Linked DNA regions of Homo sapiens: all the other regions are linked to region 1. Evidence: promoter capture Hi-C in human tissues and cell types (Jung and others, 2019). All regions are on one chromosome and are shown on one strand. The core of a region is centred on a gene start or on the middle of the fragment in contact, and the rest is flanking DNA. Distances in the headings are between cores, read along the strand shown. Region 1 overlaps PSMD4 (proteasome 26S subunit ubiquitin receptor, non-ATPase 4). Region 2 holds the start of MRPS21 (mitochondrial ribosomal protein S21). Region 3 holds the start of RORC (RAR related orphan receptor C).

Region 1 (2,940 bases), core at 236-2,735:
GTGCCACTGCACTCCAGCCTGTGCGACAGACTCCATCTCAAAAAAAAAAAAAAAAAATTAGCTGGGCGTGGTAGTGTGTGCCTTAGTCCCAGCTATGCAGGAGGCTGAGGCAGGAGGATCCTTTAGGCTAGGAGGTTGAGGCTACAGTGAGCTATGATCACACCACTGCACCCCAGCCTGGGTGACAGAGCACAGACTTTGTTTAAAATAAATAAAAATATATATATATATTTTTTAATTTTTTATTTTTTGAGAGTCTCCCTCTGTCGCCCAGGCTGGAATGCAGTGGCATGATCTCAGCTCACTGCAACCTCCGCCTCCTGGGTTCAAGCAATTCTCCTGCCTCAGCCTCCTGAGTAGCTGGAATTACAGGCGTGTGCCACCACACCCGGCTAATTTTTTTTCTATTTTTAGTAGAGACGGGGTTTCACCATATTGGTCAGGCTGGTCTCAAACTCCTGACCTTGTGATCTGCCCACCTCGGCCTCCCAAAGTGCTGGGATTACAGGTGTGAGCCACCGCACCTGGCTGAAAAAAAAAAAAACTTTAAAAAAAATTATAAAGGGAATAGATGTTCCTTGTAAAATAATATTTAAACCGTATAATATAAAGTCTCAAGGTAAGGTTACTTGTAGAGTGGATTTTATGCATGTACACTGAGAGGAAAACGCCAGCAGGGTGTTTAGGACAGCAGAGACTCAGGAGACAGCATAACTGATGCAGGGAGGTGCTGGCAGGAGGGAGGGAGCCAGAACTTCCTGCCTCACGGCCTTGACTCTCTGTAAAGATGTCAGGCTTCTGTTGAGAGTGATCGGGGAGTAGAGGAAGGTATAGTAGTTGCTACAAGGAACTGACTTGCAGGGCTGAGCAGAGTCACTGAAGGCAGCTGACCAATGGGAAACTACTGTTTGGTGGTGATTCAACTCCTGGCGAGACAGGTCTGAGACAAGTTTGGATTTTGATCCTGGTTCTGCCTCTTCATTAGCTAAATATCCTTGGCCAAATAACCTAAACTTGCTGAACCTCAGAAGTCCACATGAAAAAACTGAAAAGGTTGAGTATCATTCCATGCTTGGGGTTCAGCTGTGTGAGTGCAGAGTAAAAGTTATTGGCAAGAAGGTGGTTTAAATAAGGTCTTCGTTCATTAGAAATGGAAACCTGGCTCCTGGGCCTGTAATCCCAGCACGTTAGGAGGCCCAGACAGGTGGAAACAGAGACATAGAGAACTCAACAAGGAAGGTTCTCCTTCAGGCCAGGGACTCCTCCCCTCTCTCACACTCAAAACCATCAATATTTGAAGCAAAAAAGGAAAAAAAGTTGCCAAGCTTTATTTAGGCTGTAATGGTTACAGATAACACACATCTAACCCTATATTCCGTGCTTCCCATGCAGTCCCCTAAGCAGACTCAGCTACCCTTTCCCTCCAGTCTCACTTCTTGTCTTCCTCCTTCTTGTCCTTCTTGCCGTCCTTGGTGGCCTGGGAGGCCAGGGAGCCCATAGCATTTCGAATGGCTTCATTGTTGGGATCCACACCTGGGAGGTTCTCTAGGACACTCTGAAGGAACTCGGGGTCCTGCATCACGTCGTAATCATCCTCCTCCTGCAAACAGGCAGTGTGAGCTCAAGGGAGGGTATGGAGCGGCAGGAAGTAAGCAGGTGTTAAGGACAGGAGCATGCCGCTGCCAGAGGCCCCCTGCCTTCTGACTGTGTGGGGATCTGGGCACCTCTGGTCGACGTAAGGAAAGGACAAGTCAGCAAAATCCTTTATACAGCATGAATGCAGTTATTACTAACCAAATAGAGGGGCCTGCTGAGAACTCTGTTAATTGAGCTCTGAGGAGAAAAACAGATGCCATCACATTGAGGTTTCCTGCTCTCAAGACACCCAGTTCTCCTTTTTCTTTTTCCCAGACCCGCTTTTTTCCCTCCTGGGAAGACATCCTAGAGAACTGCCCAGGCTGCTCCCACCAGCAAGAAAGGAAAATTACAGAACAAGAGGACATTTCTCCAACTCTGACCATTAGCATTGCTACCTTAGCAAGGTTTACATGTAAGAAATGCAAATCCATGTGTTTCCCTCTGCTCCTCAAAGGACTTAGCTATGGTAGAAATACTCCCAGCCCCAGAGGGATGAGGATCTAAATTCAAGGACTTTAAACCTGATGGGGGCAGGGTTGGGTCTCACCTTGGCTGGCTCAGATGTGTCCATAGCTGAGCTGGCATCAATGTCTGCTGATTCCGCCTGGCCAAACTCTGAGGAAGAGAGGTCAGTCTGTTCAGTTACACTTCCTCACCCCAACCTCTGCCTAGGCACCACCCAGGCTCTGGCTCACCTGCTCCCTGCAGGGACATCTGCATGGCATAAGCAATCTGCTCTTCCTCAGTCATACTGCTTAGGTCAGGAAGCCCAGTGCGGCCAAACTCTTGCTGGCTGATGGTCATCTTCAGCAGGGCATCGTCTGAGTCTGGGAAAAGGAAAAGAGGAGCAGGGTAGAATTGGTGCCATATCCACACAGGCCAGCCTCCAAGGCCATTCCTAGCCCAGCCCTCCCACATATTCCTACCCTGTCAGACCTCCACACTCTCCCTGCAGTGCCTACACCCAGCTTTCAATGTTTAGCATCCCGCAGTCCCAGGACTTCGGATTCCACCTCTTTCACCTTCAGTCCCAGTCGTAGCAATCCCGGCCTCAGCAGCAGAAGCTGCAGCTGCCCGCCGGGCCTCCTCCTCCTGCCGCTGCCGCTGCTCTTCCATAGATACACGAAGGGCCTGGTGAAGGGCAGGGCATAATCAGGGCTCCCCTGCCCTCACTCCTACAGGGAGCTGGGAAAGTCAGTTGGGGTGTGGGAAAGGAACATAAAGGGGCAGCTTCTGGTTTATCACACAGAGAAGAAGCTGGAGGGATAAGCAGTGGTACGGGATTAAAAAGTAAGGACTTGG
Region 2 (2,940 bases), core at 250-2,749, 970 kb after region 1:
GAGACTGAGGCAGGAGGATTGTTGAGTGACACAGCAAGACCCTGTCTCAATTTTTAAAAAGCGGGGCCGGGCGCTGTGGCTTACGCCTGTAATCCTAGCACTTTGGGAGGCAGAGGCAGGCAGATCACTTGAGGTCAGGAGATCAAGACCATCCTGGCCAACACGGTGAAACCCCATCTCTACTATAAATACAAAAATTAACCGGGCGTGGTGGCGGGAGCCTGTAGTACTGGCTGCTCAGGAGGCTGAGGCAGGAGAATGGCGTGAACCCAGGAAGCGGAGCTTGCAGTGAGCCGAGATCGTGCCGCTGCACTCCAGCCTGGGTGACAGAGCGAGACTCTGCCTCAAAAAAAAAAAAAAAAATTAAAATTAAAATTAAAAGCGGGGAGGTGCGGGGGGTGATTACTTGTTGAATACAATTCATACAGTTAGGTTTGAGGAAGAACTTTTTTTCTTTTTTTTTGAGATAGAGTCTCACTCTTGCCCAGGCTGGAGTGCAAGTGGCTCGATCTTGGCTCACTACAACCTCTGCCTCCCGGGTTCAAGCGATTCTCCTGCCTCAGCTCTCGAGTAGCTGAGATTACAGGCGTTTGCCACCACGCCCGGCTAATTTTTGTATTTTTAGTAGAGACACGGTTTCACCATGTTGGCCAGGCTGGTCTGAAACTCCTGACCGCATGTGATCCACCCGCCTCGGCCTCCCAAAGTGCTGGGATTACAGGCGTGAGCCACCGCGCCCGGCCCAGAACTTCATTTTTAAGATAATAAACTGAGGGGCTGAGACGTTTTAAGAGACTGTGAACACCTGGGCTGGCACTGTTTTGAGAACAATCAACGAAAGGGGAAGGGAGAGAATAACCACCGCACTTCCCAGAGAGTCTAGGCATGATTCTGGTCCCTTAACAGTTACCTGTTTAGGGTCCTGTATGCGCTTTCCACGTTCCCTTCCTGTACCATCACAGTCCTGGCGATGAACTTCAGATGTTTTGCCATGACCTTGGATTTAAACCTTCACTCTGTAGAGCCTAAAGGATGATGGAGAAAGGGCGAGGAAAGCAGAAAGAGAAACGCAACATAATACAAACTACACCGCGCGGCTTATTTAGGATTTGGAAATTCAACATGCTCAGGGACGCGCGAGATGGAGCACATGGAAGTCATCCTAGAAAGTAGACGTGAATCGTTGTCTCTTATTCTCACTGCCAGTCCAAATCCTCGCATAGAGAAGAAAAGAGATGGCAGCAGGGCGTTACCACAAAGACGCGTCGCCGGGCATGAGAAGGACACGAGCGACAAGGATGCGCCACAGGGTCCCAACCACCACACATAGTTCCAAAAGGGGTTGAGTTGGGAGTTGGGGAAGGACTCTTTGTTGGTCTTTGGAAAAGGGGGCGAAAGCCCGCAAACCTGCCCTCTCGCCAAGCCAGCCTTCCTTTCCCCAAACCCTGCACAACTCCTCACCTCGCGCGCTCAGTACCTAGCCCACCGGAAGGGTTCTCACTACCGGAAGCGGAAATTACGGAATCGCCAGCGCCGCGCAAAGAAACAGGCCGAGGGAGACAACGTGCGTGGAAACCATAGCAACGTCCTTTCTGGCCTCTGTTGACTGCCTCTCTTCCCCGGGCCTGGACTCTACACCTGACAAAGCAAAATACTCATTGACTTAAATTCCCCCGAAACACGTTTCTCGCCCTCTCATGGAGTCGAAGTCCTTCGGCCTCTGAGAAGGTCAGCCCAATTTCATACCCCTTAATCCTGTGAAATCCTTGATAAATATTTGAGCCATTTCTCTTTCTCGATGGAAAACAAGAGAAGTAGGCGCTTCCTGAGGATGCTTCCTGTTTTCTCTTTGGAAAGGACAGACTCTTTGAGATCTGCTCTCCGGACGAAAAATAGATTGATTCATACACGTCATCTGCCTAAGTGCTAAGGAAAAGAAATAAACATACTGTGAGTTTCCTATATCATCTTCCCACTAATTTAACTACATAAAGTGAAATCAATAAAGATATATGGGAAACACCTGCAGGGTTTAGAATAAAAAATTATGTCAGCTTCTATGCCTTTTCGTGCTAATGAGACCTACTGAAAAACCTCCTTTTAAATTTCTTCTTCGCTGTGGAGACACCCGTCCTCCTATTTGTATGCTACCTGTACATATCCATTTATGGTTATTCACGTAAGTTAACATCTAATGGCTGTAGGAAAACGTACCTCCCTTAGAGAGAGAGTGCGCGCGCACGCTCACGCACACACACACACACACAGACACAGACACAGACGTGTGCATCATCAGTTGATGCTAATAACTTACACTAACACTTAAGCCCACCTCAGAGTAAGCCAGGTCCAAAGTAACGAAATAGAACTAGATTGGGACATTATTATGCTTGTCAACAAACTTTCACTGAATGACTACTCTGTGTCAGATACTGTTGATACCACTCTAGTGCCTCCTGGACCACTAGGACCACATAAAAGATACTAAAACAAAGTAGTATATAATAAATGCAAAATAAATTATATGGGCTGGACGCGGTGGCTCACACCTGTAATCCCAGCACTTTGGGAGGCCAAGGCAGGCGGATCACTTGAGCCCAGAAGTTCGAGACCAGCCTGGGCAACAAAGCAAAACTCCGTCTTTACAAAAAATATAGAAATTAGCCGGGTGTAGTGGCATGGCCTGTTGTCCTAGCTACTTGGGAGGCTGAGGGGGAGGATCACCTGAGCCTGGAAGGTCAAGGCTGCAGCGAGCTTTGATCACACCACTGCACCCTGGCCTGGGCAATAGAGTGAGACCCTGTCTCAAAAAATTAAAAATGAATAAATAAATAAATAGGGCCAGGCGCGGTGGCGCACGCCTGTAATCCCAGCACTTTGGGAGGCTGAGGCGGGTAGATCACCTGAGGTCAGGAGTTTGAGACCAGCCTGGCCAACATG
Region 3 (2,940 bases), core at 197-2,696, 560 kb before region 1:
AAGGTGCAGAGCCCCCAAACAGACCAACATCCTGTTCTGTGCAGAGATGCATACATGGATGCGTGGGCCCACATTTACCAAAAGAACACGGGGGATAATCAGAGCCTCAGAGGCATAGGCACATACCCTTAGACTCAGTGCAGAAGGTCCCCAAAACTTCCCCTCCTCTTTCTCACTACTCATCCACTGTCAATGACCCTAGGAGTTGAAAAGTCCTTCTCCACTTCTACCTTTATCTCTCAATCTGCAGCCATGGGGAGACTCTGGGAGCTACCTAAGAACAGAGGTGCTGATGGTAGCAGAGTGTGAAGCTCCAGGGTTGGGCAGGAGTGGAGGATGGCGAGACGAGACGGCAGAAGAGGGAAGGGACAGCTGCTTGCCCTCTCCATGCCAGGTGCCACGTGCACCAGGTGGGGGGGAGTGGGCGAGTCACGAGGCTGTGGCATGGCTGACTCCTGCTCTGCTGTTTACCAGCTGGGAACGAGAGCAGGAGGAGGTGCCAGGGAGCCTCTTGCTGCAGCCTGGCCCCTGGCCAGTTGCTTGTTGGGTAACCAGGAGAGTCAGGCCCAGCTAATCAAACTCTGGGCCCAGGCCATGCAGGAGAAAAGCAGCACCAGGATCCCCAGAAGCCTCGTCCTCTTGGCCCCCTTCAGAGCCTTCACTGCAGGCCTCAGTGTGGGCCACTAGGTCTGGGAGCCTCTCCTTCTCCCAATGAGTCCAGTGCAGCATCTCTCCTCTCCTCTTCCCCACCATGGCTTCTCTGCCTCCAGGCACTCCTCCAGGCCTGCCCCTTGCCCCAACAGATGAGGAGCACGTAGAAGCATCAGGGGGTCAGGGAGTCCTGGCAAGAGCAGCAAGGGTTAGGGGCAGGGGCCGAGCAGGCAGAGGCCTCAGGGAACTGAACAGTCACTGGGAGGAGTCTGACTGCATCCTAGAGAAGAGACACAGTCCCCCAAACCTGCCCTCTCCATCTCCCCTATGCCTGTCACCTGTCTTAGGTAGAAATCACAGGATTCTAAAGTCACAAAGACTTGGGTCCAAATCATAGCTCACCCATTTATTGTTCTTGTGTGAGTCCTTGGGCAAAATCATTAATATCTCTGAGAATCCCTCCACTCACTGATCAATCTGGAATAATAATGTTTCCCTGTGGTGGGTGCTGTGAATATTTACACAAAGTAAAAGCATGGATTTACATAAAGTGTCCTGCAAAGGGCCCAGCACACAGTAAGTGATTAATAAATGCTAGTTCCCTTCCTTTCTCCTGTCCTGTTTCTCCTCAAGGCTCCATGCACTGGTCCACTGGTCTCTCCTCATGTCCCCTCCTGGTGCCAGGACACTCTGCCAGCCACTCCTTTTCCCTGCCTGCTGGAGGGCCAGGTGCTCCCGCCTTCCACCCTCCGCCCTCCTCCCTCCCCTGGGCCCTGCTCCCTGCCCTCCTGGGCAGCCAGGGCAGCCAGGACGGCACCAAGGGAGCTGCCCCATGGACAGGGCCCCACAGAGACAGCACCGAGCCTCACGGGGTAAGAGGCCCATGGCCCTGCCTGCAGGTGGAAGAGACTGCTGGAGGTTCAGAGGAGGGCAGAAATGGCAAGAGACTGGGCAAGAAGTGAGGAGGGGAGGGAGGGACAAGAGTGCAGAGGAGAAAGCCCTGGGTTGGCAGGGAGTGAAACTGGAGGAGAAACAGGAGGAGGGGCTGGGGAGATGACAGAGGAGAAGAAATCGCAAAAGGAGAGAAACAGGAAAGAAAGGGAGAAGCGGGAGAAGGAAGAAACAGGTTGGAGGGTAGATGGGGAGGGAAGAGCCAAGTCAGGGGAGCCAGATCTAGACCCAGCGAGGGGTCAGAATGTGGACAGGCCCTCCCAGGTGTGGGCTTACCCCCCAGGAGGCACAGGGACACTGCTTCCTTGATCTGGCCAGGACCCCAGACAGCAGTGGCCGGGAGGCTGGCTGCTCCACCTTCTGTTCATTCACCAGTGGAGAAACCTGTCCTTTAAGGAGTGACAGACTTGGGGAGTGTGGCAGGGGGAACCACACCCTGTCAGCTGCCCATGACCACGTAGCCTGGTCCTTTCCTCGCCACTCACCCAGGGATGTGGGATTTCATCTCTGCAGAGAATGTGGGGCACTGGGCCATCAGCAGGGAAGGACAGAATGTCAGGCCGTCCTTGGCCCCACCCATGGTCCAAGTCAGGAACCCCCTCAGAGCAGGATCGCAGGGCCACAGGCTTGGTCAGCTGTGAGCATGGAGGAGGAAAGTTTGAGGGCCAGAGCCACCAAGCTCCAGGGCCACCTGGTGGAGGAAGAACTGGCTGCCTGGGTGAGCAAGGGGAGCACCCCCACCACAGGACTGCTCTGAGGTGCAAGGCTAGAGGCCAGGAGCCGGTGCCACGTCAGGGAGGAAGCTGGGTGGGGCCAGGCAGGAGCAAGGGGAGGTGGGCGGGGCTGGGTGGGGCCTTGCCACCTCGGGGCAGTCTTTTCTCCTCCCTCACCCCAGCAGAGCCCAGGCCATCAGGCCACTCGCCTCCACACAGCCTAGTGACCACGGCCTGCCAGTGGGGAGCATCTCCCGGGCAGAAGGGCACTGTGTGTGTGTGTGTGTGTGTGTGTGTGTGTGTGTGTGTGTATGTCAGGTGTCAAGACTGAACAGCAGAAGGAAAAAAATAACAGAATAGAGTCAGAGGTTAGGGAAGCTATAGGGGGTATAGGGCATGGTTGAAGGGCTTTCTGAGACAAAAGACTGGCCATGTGTTCTGTGATGAGCTGCTATGTGGATGTAGGAAATGGGCCAAGGTCTGGCAGGGGAATCCTCTTTCCAGGGGCTCCCTGGCTAGGTGTTTCATAGATGTTAACTGCATGAATGGGTGACACCCCCCCACCCACCAACCATGCTCCAGCTAAGGCCCTCCCCTCAACGGCTGCTCCCCCTGGAGGTCCGAG

Evidence for each region. Contacts are between HindIII fragments. The study calls those that stand out against the background at their distance.
Region 2: a contact is called between the fragment with the promoter of MRPS21 here and a fragment that was not itself captured in region 1, in 1 of the 25 tissues and cell types used here (heart left ventricle).
Region 3: the fragment with the promoter of RORC here is called in contact with a fragment that was not itself captured in region 1 in 1 of the 25 tissues and cell types used here (lymphoblastoid cells).

What each region holds. Positions count from the first base shown.
Region 1 is chr1:151,265,833-151,268,772 of GRCh38, reverse strand. It overlaps PSMD4 (proteasome 26S subunit ubiquitin receptor, non-ATPase 4), which reads right to left. Exons shown (of 10, transcript NM_002810.4): 7 at 2,661-2,769; 8 at 2,334-2,465; 9 at 2,186-2,253; 10 at 1,294-1,600. The coding sequence ends at 1,430. Among named protein-coding and RNA genes, the nearest start is that of PSMD4, 13 kb to the right of the region's middle. The HindIII fragment of the contact is 5,567 bases long and covers 1-2,940 here.
Region 2 is chr1:150,292,420-150,295,359 of GRCh38, reverse strand. It overlaps MRPS21 (mitochondrial ribosomal protein S21), which reads right to left and starts at 1,499. Exons shown (of 3, transcript NM_031901.6): 1 at 1,462-1,499; 2 at 911-1,025. The coding sequence starts at 993. LOC105371434 (a long non-coding RNA gene) reads left to right here and starts at 1,540. Exons shown (of 2, transcript XR_922129.4): 1 at 1,540-1,728; 2 at 1,863-2,060. RefSeq lists an enhancer at 1,152-1,211. The HindIII fragment of the contact is 19,456 bases long and covers 1-2,940 here.
Region 3 is chr1:151,830,308-151,833,247 of GRCh38, reverse strand. It overlaps RORC (RAR related orphan receptor C), which reads left to right and starts at 1,446. Exons shown (of 11, transcript NM_005060.4): 1 at 1,446-1,523. The coding sequence starts at 1,484. RefSeq lists an enhancer at 2,138-2,825. The HindIII fragment of the contact is 16,173 bases long and covers 1-2,940 here.